Regions from separate parts of the Homo sapiens genome. Here region 1 is linked to region 2. The links are contacts of gene promoters, found by promoter capture Hi-C in human tissues and cell types (Jung and others, 2019). All regions are on one chromosome and are shown on one strand. The core of a region is centred on a gene start or on the middle of the fragment in contact, and the rest is flanking DNA. Distances in the headings are between cores, read along the strand shown.

The links. The method cuts DNA at HindIII sites, captures the fragments that hold promoters and counts their contacts. A contact is called where the count stands out against the background at its distance.
Region 1: a fragment that was not itself captured here is called in contact with the fragment with the promoter of PTTG2 in region 2 in 1 of the 25 tissues and cell types used here (spleen).

Annotation. Positions count from the first base shown.
Region 1 is chr4:37,796,939-37,799,673 of GRCh38, reverse strand. No RefSeq gene overlaps it. Among named protein-coding and RNA genes, the nearest start is that of PGM2, 28 kb to the left of the region's middle. The HindIII fragment of the contact is 3,117 bases long and covers 1-2,735 here.
Region 2 is chr4:37,959,038-37,961,737 of GRCh38, reverse strand. It overlaps PTTG2 (pituitary tumor-transforming 2), which reads right to left and starts at 1,340. Exons shown (of 1, transcript NM_006607.3): 1 at 610-1,340. The coding sequence starts at 1,303. The coding sequence ends at 728. All of the region lies in intron 2 of TBC1D1 (TBC1 domain family member 1), which reads right to left. The HindIII fragment of the contact is 2,532 bases long and covers 608-2,700 here.

The sequences.
Region 1 (2,735 bases), core at 221-2,720, 160 kb after region 2:
CTCCAGTTGTTTCTGGTGGTCAAGAGTTGAGACCTCAGGTGGGAGCATCTAATTGGCTAAGCCTTGGTCATCTGTTCAATCTCTTCTTCCAGGAAGAAGAAGGAAGTATCTGTCCCCTTCAGCTCCCATACTAGTTGTGAATCTCCACCTCCCAACAGAATCTCATTACAGAAATTCTCCATAATTAGAAAAGGTATAATGAGGTGTGTCTGTTTCATCATGGCTGGGAAACCAGTTTCTCTGGAGTTTCCTTGGCCAAGAGGGGTACATTCAGTTGGTTGGGGTACTTAGAATTTTGTTTTTAATTTACAAGCCAAAATGAGGCTCTAAAGGAAGACTTGGGGCAATGAGGAAGAGAGTCCCTCTTTCTCTCTCTCCCTCCCTCTTTGGTAGTTGGGTCTCCTTTGTGGCTTCACCCCCTGCCCAATAGCCCGTCCCTCCTTCTGGGCATCTCCCACTAGAAAAGCCCCAGCTTTGGGACTCTGATGACACCACTTCATCCTAGTGACCTTCAATTCCTGGGGATGGTGCTGGCCTCCTGTATCTCTAATCTCTGGGTAGTCTTGCAGTTCCCTATTTGGCTTCTCAGTCCTTGTATAAATTCCTTTTATTAAATTTTCATTGTTTGAAAGACCTAGAGTGTTATCTGTTCTCCTGACTGACATGATATTGACAGCAAAAACTAAATATTGTGGAATCCACTTGATCTTCATCTCATTCTCTGGTCATCAGGTTGAGACAGAGCCTCCTGTCACCTGAGAACAATTGGGGAGTTATAATTGGAAGCAGTGTGAGTCTTGCTGTCTATCAAATCCTTTCTCTTTCCTTTTAGACACTCAGCTAGACTTGATTTCCCAATCATACAATGGATTCCTGTCTAATGGAATAAGGGTAGAATTTATGTCTGGAATTTCCACCCCTGAATCATAAAAATCTTCTTTCTCTCTCTCTTCTTTCTGCTGGCTGGACTTTAGCACTCAGGACAACATGGGAGGTACATGTTGAAGAGGTCAGAGCCTCTGTCTACCTGGGTCTTGAACTGTTGAGCTAGAGTGGACTCTTCCCACATGAACCACTACCAACTGGACTTGATATGAGTGAGAGATAAATGTTATGGTAAATCGCTGACATTTGGGGGTTTATCTGTTAATGCATCCTATGTTACCTTAGCTAACACATGATATGAGAATTTTTTTTTATTAGGGAGCATAGTGGTTAATAATGGAGATAGATGGGATTACAATCCCAGCTCTGCCACTTACTAGCTTTATGACTTTGAGCAAGTCACTAAATTCTCTCTAAGCCTCAGTTTCTTCTGCTATAAAATGGGAATAATACTATTATTCTGTGGTGGCATTGTAAGAAATTAGTAGACACACTTCTATACATAATATCTATATGCATAATTCCATACATAATTATCATATTAATACTATAGGTTTAGTTGAGAACTCAGTAACTGTTAGACATTTTTGTTACTACTCAACTAGGAGGTAGATTAGGTCTACTTTCACTGTATGCTATTTTAAGTAGGTAGTGTCTCATAACTGTAAGGTGCGTTAGTGTAAGTTAAGCAAAGTACTATTTTTAGATAAATGGAACATCATTATATAGTCAATCACATGGCCATTGAACTTTCTTCCTGGGGTTGTCATCAGATTTTTCCACTGCCATTGCTGGAAGATAACGTGATTGATTTCATGTTCTTAGAGAAACTTCAGCATGCAATTGAAAGGGTGAATAGGGACAGGACTTTATAGACCACAGCCTCACCTGACCCCCCCCCCCCCAGTTAGGACTGATTAATCCTTTCTTGCCCTCATTGTACACTTGACACTATAGGATATTTGCTTATTGCCCAGCTAACCTTGTTATGTCATCATACAGGAAATAAATGAAAGAAAGCTTAATGGAGGGGCCATGTAGAGGTCAAGGAGAACCAAGAGTGATAAAGCACTTCCAGGCTACACTGTGGGGGGCCACTGTCAGCCCTGGGCCTGGAAAAGCCAGGAACAGAAGAGCTGGTTGTAGTTCTGGAAGCAGGCTGCTTCTCAGCAGTTGTGGCTTTAGGGAAGTGCAGCCATTGTTAAGCCTTAGCAGGCATGAAGGAAGCCAGGGCAATGCTTCACTTTCCTCTTCTGCCGCCCTTCCTCTCCTGCTACCCTTCCTCTCCTCTTGTGCTTCCTAGTGGCTGAGCCCAACTGAAGCTGGAAGGCAAGGGAGCCCTGTTGATACTTTCCAGAAAAGTCAGCTTCCAGGAGCCACTGGGCAAGGTGGCGAAGGGCAGAGAATAGATCTAGAGGGGCAAAGAACATCCCACACCCAGCTCCTAAGGAACTGTGAGATTCTTACAAACAGAGTTCCTTTCTTAATGCTTTTTGTATCTTCAGCGTGCAGCAAAGAACACATAATGGATGTTAGTTGAATAAACGAATGAATGAACAAATAAATGGGGAGAACAAAAATGCTTGCACTTAAATTTTTTAAAAAATGTATAATGTCCACATATCCTTCATTTGCCCTGGAGACAGTGAAACTTCCTACTGGAAATGAGAGCTCTCACGGACTCCAGGTAGTCAGTGCTTTATGAGCCCATTGCATCCCAGGCCTCATCCATCCTTCATCACGCATTAGCAGTTGCTCTTCTCGGCTGGGGTCATTCCTTGCCAGGAGCTACCATGTCTTCCAGTGTAGATCAGCCTTTCCAGGCTATAGTGTTGTTTCTGAAGCTCTTC
Region 2 (2,700 bases), core at 91-2,590:
ATAACCACCACTCACTTTCAGTAGAAAGAGCAAAACCACTAACATGTATAATGAATAGCAGCTCCTGGCCTAGGAAACTCACTAAGTCTTGGAATTCAGGAACCAGAGAGGAAACCCTGAAGCCTCTCAGGTGATCTGGATTGACACCAGACATCTGTGACTCTATCAAAGCTTTGTACAGAATTCAAGGCATGGACATAAAAGTGCTTTAAGTTGTAAGACATTAGCAGAATAAGATACGGGATTTCATGAACATTATTTAGCCATATAGACATTTTAAGATAATCAGTGTTAGTCCTAGCTGCAAATATGTTCCCTATTTTTTTTTAGCATTCCACAAAATTCTCATTCTTTTAATTATCTCCCTTTGCTGCTAGGACCTCCTTAAGGCTTTCATCTGGTTCACACTAGGCTGGGAAGAAAAGATGTAGAAGTTCTTGGCCTGGCCCTGGCCTTTTCTCCTTTATCCTTTGCTATTTCCTGTCTCCTGTTTCTCTACAGAAGTAAATCATGTTGACATATCCCCAAAGAGTACGGGCTGTAGTATGGAAGAAATATAGAAACAAGGGACAGCTGAGACAGATGCACATAAAGAGGAATATGACCCACTTTATATTTATGTATTTATTATGTTGTTAAACAAATAATGCTTTATTAATACAAGTACACACAAACTCCAAAGCACTAAGAAATTTAAATATCTATGTCATAGCAAACAGCTGGCAATTCAACATCCAGGGTCGACAGAATGCTTGAAGGAGACTGCAAACAGATTGCATTCCCATGGTGGAGAGGGCATTTTCACAGGTGAAGGGGGGCCCAGCTGAAACAGCTTTTCAAGCTCTCCCTCCTCATCAAGGATCATGAGAGGCACTCCACTCAAGGGGAGGTGTGCAATCTGGCGCTCTTCAGGCAGGTCAAAACTCTCAAAGTCTAGAAGATTGAAGGGAAAGAATTTTTCTATTTCTGGATAGGCGTCATCTGAGGCAGGAACAGAACTTTTTGTTTTAACAGTCTTCTCGGTCATCTTTTTGGCAGAAAAGCTTGGCTGTTTTTGTTTTCTGGGTCCATTGGTCTTTACTGACTTTTCTGTAGCTCTGTTGACAGTGCCCAAAGCCTTTCTGGTAGCTTTAGGTAAGGCTGATGGAGCATCGTATGTTTTGCCAAAACGTCGTGTTAAAACTTGAGATATCCCATCTAATGCTTTGATTGAAGGTCTAGACTCCAGCTTCAGCACATCCTTGGCAGCCACACGGGTGCCTGGTTCTCCAATTTCCTTATCAACGTAGATCAGAGTAGCCATTCTGGATTATTGCCGCTCTCAACAGCCACATTCATCTAAGACCGTGGTCCCACTTTATATTTAGATAGAATGTTAACTATAGTGGAAATTGGTGTAATATCTAATTTTTGTGCCTAGCACATCATCTGAGAGTTAGCATGAACTCATATAAAGAGCACAGGCCTGAGGTCAGACAAACCTGGGTAGGAATCTCGGGAGTACCACTTTCTGTTAGCTGTAAGATTTGGGCAAGTTAGCTAACATCCAAGCCCTATTTCCACATCCATAAAATGGAGGTAAAACCCAACTCTTACACATTGTTAAATGGTCAAAAACCACTTAGGTAAAGGGCAGAGCAACCAATAAATAAATAGTTTCTGCCGTTATTGCATTTTCTAATTTATAATGTACTTTTGCATACATTATTTCACTTCTTACTAACCTTTAATAAATGCAAGTCTTCCATTTTTTACTAAAGCAGCACCCCTGAAGTTTCTCTAAACTGCAAAATGCTCAAATGTTTCATCCCGAGTTATCCCTTTTGCCAACTCTGATCTACTGGTGGCAGACAATCCAGCATGCAGTGGTGGGGAGAGCCGAGAGGCCCTCTCTGAGCAACGTGACTACTAATGGTGCTTGCTTGGGCAGGAATACTGGACTATGGCAATGACTATATACCTTTGCCAACCCAACCCCAATCTAGTCCAGGCTATTGATTCACAGCAGCAAAGGGTCACTTCTGTTTCTAAGGCCTAGAGATAAGTTGAGGGCACTTTTGCAGTGAGCCATTTCAATTCAATGATAAATATTCTTGTTGTCTAATTCATTCTATGAATCTTTGACCCAGTGACATATGTGCGTACGTATTTGAGCCCATATGCAAAAATATACAGTTGAGTCTTGAACAATACAGGATTGAGTCGCATGGATCCACTTGTTCTCAGATTTTCTTCTGCGGCTGCCACCTCTGAGACTGCAAGACCAACCCCTCCTCTTCCTCCTCCTCCTCAGCCTATTCAACGTGAAGACAATGAGGGTGAAGACCTGTATGATGATCTATTTCTACTTAATGAATAATGCAATATGTTCTCTTCCTTATGATTTTTCTTAATAACATTTTCTTCAGCTTACTTTATTGTGAGAATACAGGATATAGTGCATAAAACATACGAAATATATGTTAGTCGACTGTGTTATTGGTGAGGTCAACGGAAGACTATCGGTTAAGCTTTTTGGGAGTCAAAGGTTATAGGTGGATTTTCGACTATGCAGGTGATTGGCGCCCCTAACCCTCACATTGTTCAAGGGTCAACTGTGCCTGTTTATTTGCATAAGGCCACCTCAAATACAAAGGGCCATTCAAAGGTATCATTAGAAGTCTTGCTCTTAACCTGACACAGCTAGCTAGAAAGTGACAG